Linked DNA regions of Homo sapiens: all the other regions are linked to region 1. The links are contacts of gene promoters, found by promoter capture Hi-C in human tissues and cell types (Jung and others, 2019). All regions are on one chromosome and are shown on one strand. Each heading gives the region's core, a stretch centred on a gene start or on the middle of the fragment in contact. The rest is flanking DNA. Distances are from core to core; before and after follow the strand shown. Region 1 holds the start of ATOH1 (atonal bHLH transcription factor 1). Region 2 has its middle 51 kb from the start of ATOH1. Region 3 overlaps GRID2 (glutamate ionotropic receptor delta type subunit 2).

Evidence for each region. Contacts are between HindIII fragments. The study calls those that stand out against the background at their distance.
Region 2: a fragment that was not itself captured here is called in contact with the fragment with the promoter of ATOH1 in region 1 in 5 of the 25 tissues and cell types used here (H1 embryonic stem cells, adrenal gland, dorsolateral prefrontal cortex and 2 more).
Region 3: a fragment that was not itself captured here is called in contact with the fragment with the promoter of ATOH1 in region 1 in 2 of the 25 tissues and cell types used here (adrenal gland and aorta).

Annotation. Positions count from the first base shown.
Region 1 is chr4:93,826,901-93,830,203 of GRCh38, reverse strand. It overlaps ATOH1 (atonal bHLH transcription factor 1), which reads right to left and starts at 1,451. Exons shown (of 1, transcript NM_005172.2): 1 at 1-1,451. The coding sequence starts at 1,277. The coding sequence ends at 213. RefSeq lists an enhancer at 2,629-3,303. The HindIII fragment of the contact is 12,246 bases long and covers 1-3,303 here.
Region 2 is chr4:93,877,604-93,880,946 of GRCh38, reverse strand. No RefSeq gene overlaps it. Among named protein-coding and RNA genes, the nearest start is that of ATOH1, 51 kb to the right of the region's middle. The HindIII fragment of the contact is 5,081 bases long and covers 1-3,343 here.
Region 3 is chr4:93,763,921-93,767,029 of GRCh38, reverse strand. The region is part of intron 14 of GRID2 (glutamate ionotropic receptor delta type subunit 2); the gene reads right to left. Among named protein-coding and RNA genes, the nearest start is that of ATOH1, 63 kb to the left of the region's middle. The HindIII fragment of the contact is 6,409 bases long and covers 1-3,109 here.

The DNA of each region.
Region 1 (3,303 bases), core at 202-2,701:
CATCAAACAATATGGACCGTAGGAAGTTTGGAACAGCGGCGGCATTTGCAAACCATCAAATGTAGCTGCCATCTGAAGCCAAGTCGTTGCTAAACAACGACCATCGCAGAGCAAAAATTAAAGGGTGCGGGGATCTTTAACCGCGGGGCTTCCCGCGCACTGGGAAAGGGCAGTTTTGTTTCTGTCTCAGTTTTCAGGCTTCTGTCACCTTCCTAACTTGCCTCATCCGAGTCACTGTAATGGGAATGGGGGGAAAATTCCCCGTCGCTTCTGTGGGACCGAGGCGAAGTTTTGCTGTTTTCCTCCTGCACTGGCTGCAAGATGCTCCCGGGGAGAGAAGGAGACAAATTCTTTTGCGCCATCATCGCTGTCAGGGCGCTGTCCTCGAAAGTCGAGAAGTGCAGAGCGTCCAGCTGCACCGAGTACCCTCCCGCAGAAGCTGGGGCTGAGAAGCGAGTCCGGCAACTCCCGGGCGGGGTCGGCCGCTGGCTCCCTCCGGAAGCCTGCTGAGCCCCAGCTGCGGTCGCGTTGCCCGCGCCCCCTTCATAGGAGGCCGCGGTGCGAAGGTGGTGGTGGTCGCTTTTGCAGGAGGCTGGAGGCGGCGGTGGCTGTTCCCCTCCGCTGGGCGTTTGTAGCAGCTCGGACAAGGCGTTGATGTAGATTTGGGCCATCTGCAGGGTCTCATATTTGGACAGCTTCTTGTCGTTGTTGAACGACGGGATAACATTGCGCAGCTGGTCGAAGGCGTGGTTCAGCCCATGCATCCTGCGCCGCTCCCTGGCGTTGGCTGCTAGCCGTCTCTGCTTCTGCACCCCATTCACCTGTTTGCTGGAAGGGGCCCGTTGGCGGCTGCAGCCCAGCTCGTCTACCACCACCCCGCCTTTCAGCTTGCACAGCTGTTCCCGCACTTTCACCGGCCCGGGGCTCTTGCTGCTGCTGGCACCGCCGCTGCTCCTCCTTACCAGCTCCCCCCGGCCGTCCACCTCGTCCCGGGGCGCAGCGGCCTCTGAGGCACCCAGCTCCGGGGAATGTAGCAAATACTGGGCGGCGCGTGCCGTGCAGATGCCCTGCAAAGTGGGAGCCAGCCAGGCGCGTGGGTCGGTGCTGTCCAGGAGGGACAGCTCAGGCGGGTAGACGGGATGCTCTCTCGCCTGCAAAGTTGCAGGTGGCTGCGGCGGCGGCGGCGGTTGCGGGAGATGATGCGGCTGGGGCTGGCGATGGTGGTCTCCCAACTCCTTCACTTCAGCCCACTCTTCTGCATGCAGCAGGCGGGACATTGCACTGCAAAGGCTCGGAGGCTCAGGATCGGAGGCAGCACTGGGACACCAGCTCAACCAAAAAAAAGGCCCTTTCCGGGTCTCTTCTGCAACGTCTTATTTTTTTTTCCCTCCTCGACCCTCCCCCACCCACTCGGAGATCACACACCAGGTCGCGTGCAACTATGCTTCTCCGGTTGCTGAAGGCGCTGCGCCCCTTTAAAAAGCGGCACGCGCCACTCAGTCTCCCCCCGCTCCTCTCCCAACCCCCTCCTCGCGCCGGTCGCGTGTCTTCTCAGCCAATGGAGGGCGCGGGCAGGCGCGTGCGAGCAGCCAATCAAAGAGTTTTTACACCCCGAGAAAAGTTCTTGTGTGCAGAGGACTCCCAAGCCTGCTCAGGTTTTTTTTTTTTTTTCCTTCTTTTAAATTCGTCAGATTCATATGTTAATTGCAGGGCTGTAATTCGACTCCGGTGTGTGTCACCACCCCGGCGGCTGGGGTGCGGGAGCGGTGCGGAGCCGGCTCTCGGCTGGTGCCCAAGCTGACTCGGGTCAGATGTGCACGACCGCGGGCGGCTCTGGGCGATTCTGGACCCGCCAGGCGCCCAGAAGCCACTCAAAGCAGAGAGAAGGCCGCCTACCCTGTGCTGCCCCCAAGCTAGGATCACAGCTCCCACTTCTGATGCCCAAGCATTTACGATTTCTCATGTATAATAGGATGTTTGTATTTATGTATGCAGGTATTTATAAATCTCTCATGCATGTTCATAGATATATAACTGCTACATGACGTCCATCATTTAAGATTGCTGTTGGAATAAAGGGGGAAAACCCACTCGTCTCAGAGTATGTTTCTTACTTTTGCTCCATCTTTTCATTTTTTACTTCAGATCTCTTAGTTCGACTTCGTCATATGATCTTTTTCTTAATGGAAAATAGAGCTGCGGTGTAGTGATAGCACACCAAATTCCAGATCCCCCAATTCTCTCTGTCCCCTTTCCCCAGCACCCTGCGGCCAATTAGGATTGTAATCTGCCTAAATCTCTCCGTTGAGTGTAATTTAGGGCCAGAATATTTTACGGTATTATGCAGAGTTTCAACACACACAGTAGGACTCCTCATTAAATGCCCAGCCAGGGGAGGGTGCCCAAAGTAAAATGAAAGGCGCCTGCATTCCCTGCAATCCTTAACACTTTCAAGGCACAGAAGTCCCAAGTTACCTACCCTTTTGCCTCGATCGCCCTCTCTTTACTGCGGGCTCGTGGCTTCCTCAGTTTAACCTCCTCCCGCCCCTCCGTTTAGTTAGGGTGGGCTTCCCCTTTCCAGCCCCCACCCCCACCCCACTCCGCCCCATACAATCAGGGAGGTCCTTGGCAAGGGGGGGAGGCCAATTCCCAGGTGAACGCCCCCTCCGGTCCTATTAGCCTCGGCCTAGTCTATTCACAGCAAAGAGCCAATCAGAAGCTCATTGGCCCTGGGCGCGCCCCAGCTTGCGCCCAGCGCGCCCTGGCTCTGGCTCCGGGCGCTCTCCTGCACCGCCCCTGGGGCGCGGGAGTGCGATGCAACCTGTTGATGCTACTGTTGCTTTTACTTTCCCAGTGGCTGTAATCCCGAAAGGAGTCTCATCCTCTAGGAGAGATGTTAAAAAAGAGCCCAAGAGATAGCTCCCTGGAATATGTCTTTGCAATGTCCAGAGGCAGTTGAATGTTGTTTTCGCAAACATTTGCCGGGGCTTGATCTAACCTGTCATCTAGAACTCCTTGGGCAGTAGATTTTCTGGGACTGGACTGGACATATCCTATAAAGATACAGAATGGCAGAATAGGGTGCTAAAATGATGTTTAAGACATTATTCTTCACCTGTTTCTTCTTCAACCTCGTCTGTTTGCTGGTGTCTAGGAATAGTCTTGGGCGTATCTTACGTGCCAGAAACTTCAGAGCTTTATTCTTGTGTGAATGTTTGGGCTCTGCTGAAATAAATGTTAAAGACACACAAAAGCAACAACAAAAAACAAACCTAATCTGAAAACCATCCATGAGAACAAAGA
Region 2 (3,343 bases), core at 720-3,219, 50 kb before region 1:
CATGAACATCTATTTTGTCACTTCTGAGCCACCAGCACACATCTCAGAAATCTTCGTTTTTCTGGCTTCTTATTAGCTGGCATATCACCTGGACAACATTTGTGTTTCAACACTAATACGCAATTCATATTTTTGGGATTTTTGCACATGGTACATGGTAAGCACTCAATAATATTTGTTGAATCTGAATCTGCAACCTGATATAGACTTTTGCTTATTTTTTTGTTTGAGGCACTGGAATCAGAGGCAATAGTGAAGAAGCAGGTAGAAAGTTGGAGATGAGTAGGAAAAGTAAACGTGAAGCTCAAACCTGATTGTGAACAAATTCTACCTGACTCTGAAGTGCACTCATTTCCACCTAAAGCATGGAACAATTAGACTGAAATAAAACATCTGAAAATCGAGACAGAACTATGCAATATAGTCTCAGTCACCACAATAGTCCTTAGGTAGGGACGCTAATTTTGATAAAGAAGATAATTTGCTAAGATTGGAATTTGCTCCCTATTCTTAGTTGAATGCCCACTTACATGAGGTGGAGAGGTGACTGGAGGTGTGATGCTGAGAAACTATCATGTGCTTCCTGAAAGTACACGTTGGGGACACCCTATTCTTCCCCTTTCTTTGCAGCAGCTCCTTTTCGACTGTTTTCTTCCCCTGCTTCTGGTAACAGGACTCCTCTTTATTATGGAAGAGCTAATCTATGAAACTTAGGTGGAGCAGACTTCTCCCCACAAAGGTGGACACATGACCTAGTCTATGTAATCAGAGTAGTGCATTTCCTTGGCCACAGAGATTGGTTCAACAGTCAAGTCACCCACGCAGAGCCACTCAGAAGCTCCCCAGGGCCCTGCTGGGGAAATAATGAAAAAGAGGGACTTTCTTTTCTCTGGGGTTGCACCTTATGACGAATATAAATCTAGAGCTGCCTGTGGTCATTTAGAGAATGGAAGATATTTTGGAATGGTAAAAGAATACGGTTGGAAAGGGAGAGAGATGGAAAATGAGGCTAGAGAAATGGGCAGGGATCTGATTGATTGTAAAGTATTTATGTGAGAGGCAAAGGCACTGAATGTCCTCCTGCAGGCAAGAGCATATCAACAATGGTTTAAGCTTGTTTGATGGCATGGTGTCTGAAACTGAGGTCTGTCCACCGTTTTTTGTTGTTGTTGTTGTTGCTGTTGTTGTTTTTGAGACAGTTTTGCTCCATCGCCCAGGCTGGAGTGCAGTGGTGCAATCTTGGCTCACTGCAACCTCTGCCTCCCAGGTTCAAGTGATTCTCATGCCTCAGCCTTCTGAGTAGCTGGGAGTACAGGCACCTTCCACCACACCTGGCTAATTTTTGTATTTTAGTAGAGATGAGTTTTCACCATGTTGGCCAGGCTGGTCTCAAACTCCTAGCCTCAGGCGATCTGCCCGCCTTGGCCTCTCAAAGTGCTGGGATTACAGGGATGAGCCATCGTGCCCAGACCTCCTTTTGTTTTTCTAGAAAATAACTGTGTCCTTAGTGTGGAGACGGGAGCATGAAATAATTCAAGAAACAGACCAAGTCTGTAGCTATAGCAATTTTTTCTGCAACTAGTGAATAAATAACAGTACAGGCTGCGACATTGACAATGGGGCTAGGCAAAGACTCTATATTTGTGATAAAATTAATAGGGTTTTAGTGATCTAATGAATATTAAGTTTGAGGGAGAGAAAAGAATCAAGGATCTCTCACAATTTTCCAGTTTAGAACATTGTAAAGATGCAACTCACTAATCTTGTACAGGGATAAAAGTAAACAAGGCATTGAGGGGAGCTGAGGACAAAAAATGACTTTGGATGAGTTAAGTTAGGGAAGTCTGTAATATCCACATGAAGAAATCTTGAGAGTATTATGAAATATAAGCCTGAAGCCCAGGAGAAAGGTTAGTGTGGAGTTATGGAAGTGAGAGTGATCAGCATATGAATTGTAAAGTCACTGATATAAATGGGATTACCCACGTAGAATGAATTATGTGAGAAGACTGACAGAGGAATGAGGAAAAGTTGCCACAGAGAATGAAGAAAATCAAGGAAAAGGTGTTGGTGAAATGAAAACCTACAAAGAAAGAGTTGCAACAGCAGTCAGGAGGTCAGTGTTTCAGGATTAAACAGTGTCCATTAGCTCTGTCACTTAGGAGGTTAACTTGTCCTTACAGTGAACTTTCAGTGCAGTGATAGGGTGAAAGTCAAATTACACTGAGTTGAGAAGTGAGTTAGAGGTGGAAGAAAGTTAAAGAGTAGAGACCATTTAAAAGAAATTTAGATCTGGACAAAAATTGAAAACCAGGGTAGTATATATAGGAGAACAAGAATGTGGAAAGCTTTTTTGTCTGTTTGTTCAGTTTTTTAGATTTGTAATTTGAGGGAAGAGGGGATAATGGACGATCCCTGAAAAATTGAGATGTGATTGTGAAAACAAGTAGATTCTTAAATTAACTTATTTTTATTTTCCTAACAAAATTCAATTTTCTTCTCTTAAAGCTTCTTTTTGTTTGTTTGTTTGTTTGTTTTGTTTTGAGACAGGGTCTTGCTCTATCGCCCAGTCTGGAGTGCAGTGGCGCGATCTCGGCTCACTGCAAGCTCCGCCTCCTGGGTTCACACCATTCTCCTGCCTCAGCCTCCCGATTAGCTGGGACTACAGGCGCCCGCCACCATGCCTGGCTAATTTTTTTTTGTATTTTTAGTAGAGATGGGGTTTCACGGTGTTAGCCAGGAAGGTCTCGATCTGCTGACCTCGTGATCCGCCCATCTCGGCCTCCCAAAGTGCTGGGATTACAGGCGTGAGCCACCGTGCCCCGCCAAAGCTTCTTTTAATGTAACCAAGTCATTATCTAATTATAACTTTTAAAACATAATTTTTAGAAGATCTGTACATGAAAATATAATTTTGGAATGGCACTTTTCTAATGTTTACACTTTTCTAATGTTAGATGAAAAGAATTATGTGCATTCCTAAACACCCCATACATACAATGTAATATTAGAGAAAGCATAAGCAACTATTGTAGCATATCATTTTAAACTCTAAATTGTAGGTTGTTTACAACTCGAATGATACTCCATTTTCAGTTTGATTTATGTTTTGCCTACATTTTACATGTCTTTTAGAACCAGATCTTCTGCCTAGGAGTATTTGTAGCCTCCATCTTTAATCTTAAGATTTGGGTTTTAATGAACACCTACTACATTCTGGTCATTTTTGTCTGCATAATTAAAACCTACAAAGGATCAAAGTGCTTCGCTCCTGAAATCTATAGTAGACATTTAGTTCTATTAAGAGGTAGTATTTTTTATTGGGCTTCATTGCCCAGTTGAG
Region 3 (3,109 bases), core at 541-3,040, 64 kb after region 1:
GCAACACACAAAGATGTAATCATGGTATCAAAATTACTTTCCTGGCCTATTCATGAATATCATTTAAATGATGTTGGTATTGCTCGTCGATAGGTGTAAAGCTTCAGTTATGCAAGAGGGAAAAGTTCTTGAAAACTACTGTACAACATTGTAACTATAGTTAGCAATACTGTATTGTACATTAAAAATTTTCATAGAATAGCACCCATGTTAAGAATTCTTACCATAATAATAAAAAATAATGGCACATCCCTTATGTATTTGCCCACCTAAAGGCTCTAGGTAGTCAGAGCACCATTGATTACCTTGGAGGAAAAATGTAGTCATCTTTGAACAAATAATTCTTTTTAAATTTGAGTTTATAAGTACTTGTAGATATAAAAGGCAACTACAGCAACATTTGCTTAATGAGAATACATCTGGGCACAAAATGAGATCCTGTTATCCTGCTCTCCTATTTGCATCACACCATATTGGTCAGTAGCCTTGTGATACGGTTTGGCTCCGTGTCCCCACACAAATCTCACCTTGTAATAATCTCCACGTGTCAAGTGCAGGACAGGTGGAGATAATTGAATCATGGGGGTGGTTTCCCTCATGCCGTTCTTGTGATAGTGAGTCTCACGAGATCTGATGGTTTTATAAGGGGCTTCCCCTTTGCTCAGCACTCATTCTCTCTCCCGCTGCCTTGTGAAGAGGTGCCTTCCACCATGATTGTAAGTTTCCTGAGGCCTCCCCAGCCATGGGGAACTGTGAGTCAATTAAACTTCTTTCTTTATAAACTACCCAGTCTTGGGTATTTCTTCATAGCAGTGAGAGAACGAACTAATACACTGTGAAAGTGTAAGAATTTTCCTTCATAGCACTTATCATCATTTATAATTACTTGATCAGTCTGTTCCATTTTCGAGAGTGTGTACTCATCCTCCATATTGCCTCCTACAGAGCAGGTGCATATTTATTGATGGAATATACTCAACACAGTTTTGGTAAATGAATCCTAAACTCTGATATCAGATCCTATTCTTTTTTCTTACGATTGATGCTGTTTTCTAATTTATTCCATTCCTGTTTTATTCATCTATCCATTTAATAAACAGTTGAAGAATGACTTCATTCCAGACATTTCCTTGGGTACAAAATTTATTCTAAACCACGACTGCACATTCCACCGGAGAGGCTTGAGTGACACTGTGAAGCCATTTTTTTAATGCCCTCAATTCATGTTCATTTATTCCTTCCTTCATTCAGGAACTTAATTACTGCCTACACTTTCTTCTCAGTGGTATTTGGGGCCCTTGCATTTCATTTTATTTAATTTTGTCTCCTTATTCTTTCTAAACTTGGAAAATATTTTGACTTTAGAAATCATTATTGAAATATATATATATGCCTCATATATATATATATATATATATATAATACCTCACCTATTTAAATTCTAATAGGAATTAAAAGCCTTAAACCCAAAAAAAATCATTTAATTGCAGAATTTTTAGGTTCAGCCAGCTGAGCGATAGGAGATCATCGAGGGGAAAGAAGGAAGCACCCTCTCTAGGTGCTTCAAGTACGAATATGCCACAAAAATCTCTTTGTATTGTTTATTTTATGCTCACGGCAGCACAAGTGGCTGGGGCATTGCAGGGAGATTTCATCTTTGGGGATGTACAGAGAAATTGGACCATCTGACCCCTCAGTCACCCCTGACAACAGATTCCAGGAATACAGGCTGGCATGGGCTACAAGTGTTGGAAGGGAATGAAAGTGTTCTCTAAGTCCAGAGTTCTGTCATAACATTTTGCTACAAAATCTAGTGTTCCTGGAAATTCCATCAGAATGGTCTCACTATGGCCTCCTTTTTATGATTTAACAAAAACCCAATTTAAAGATTATGTAAAGCAAGTGTGGTAAAATATAATGCACTGCCTGGAAGATGAATAGGATGAATTCTTATAATAAGCAAAGAGATATGTTCCCTTCAATCTTCCCAAAGCACTGGCCCTTTTAAATTGAACTTGAAAATCTAAAGAATTGTACCTTGTAATTATAAGCAACAATAATGTGTATGTATGTGTGCGAGTGTGTGTGTGTGCGCGTATGTATGACAATGCAAAAATTGAGTTGCAAAATTCTTAATAAACACAAGAAAAACTTTTGAGTTTATGGAACAATAATGTTCTGTTTGGCGTGCAATTTCCACAAGATGGCAGTATTTGCTCATAGAGAGCAAAGAGTTACTGTGGTTATTGTTAATCTATGGGATTGAAGTGCTGAAGTATAGACTTTGTGGGGCTGTAAATACTTAAACTATTAGAAATAAGTTTAGCTATTAGACTGTGATGAACTAACGGCTAAAATCTCTTTTTGGAGTATAGTCAGAAAAATTCCTGCTATTTTTACACCATGGTGATGCATAACAACACTTACTTTTGAGGGTCATTGTGGTGTGAATTAATAAGACCACACGTGACGATCTCAGTGAGCAAGATGCATGAAAAGCTCATTACCTGGCACGCGGAAGGCTATTGCAACTCTAAAGCTAGACTTATTATTGTCACATGTATCACTATTGTTCTTTCTTTGGACCTGTTCCGGTACATACTTCTTAATGGAGAATTACATGCCCATATGATCAATGAATGATTGATTCACTGACACGGACATCTCATTTCCTTTTTTTCATCCAAAATATTAAAACATTTGTGATCCCATTGAACAGAAAAATTTTAGAAGTCCATAAAACTTAATTGCAATTTGAAAATTGCACTGATTTCTTTATTGGTATAAATGAGGAAATTTCAGGGGAAGGGAGTAGAGGAATCAAAAGATCCTTCTTTCATATTAAAATTAAAGAAATCCAACAGGTTTAGGCATTCATCTTGAAGAGCCTTTTTAGCCTCATTTGTGTTTGAGACTCACACTAATTTTTGATCCCTTACCATTTTTAGTCACTACTCTAGGAAATGATTTTCAAATTAATTTATTTGTTACAAAACAGGTTGCTGAAAGTTGGACGCAAATTTCTAATCCCACATAGGTCACTCTGATTTTGTCCTTAAATACCATCGCTGTCAATAAGTTCCTCTCAAACTTTTCTGGAATCATGGCC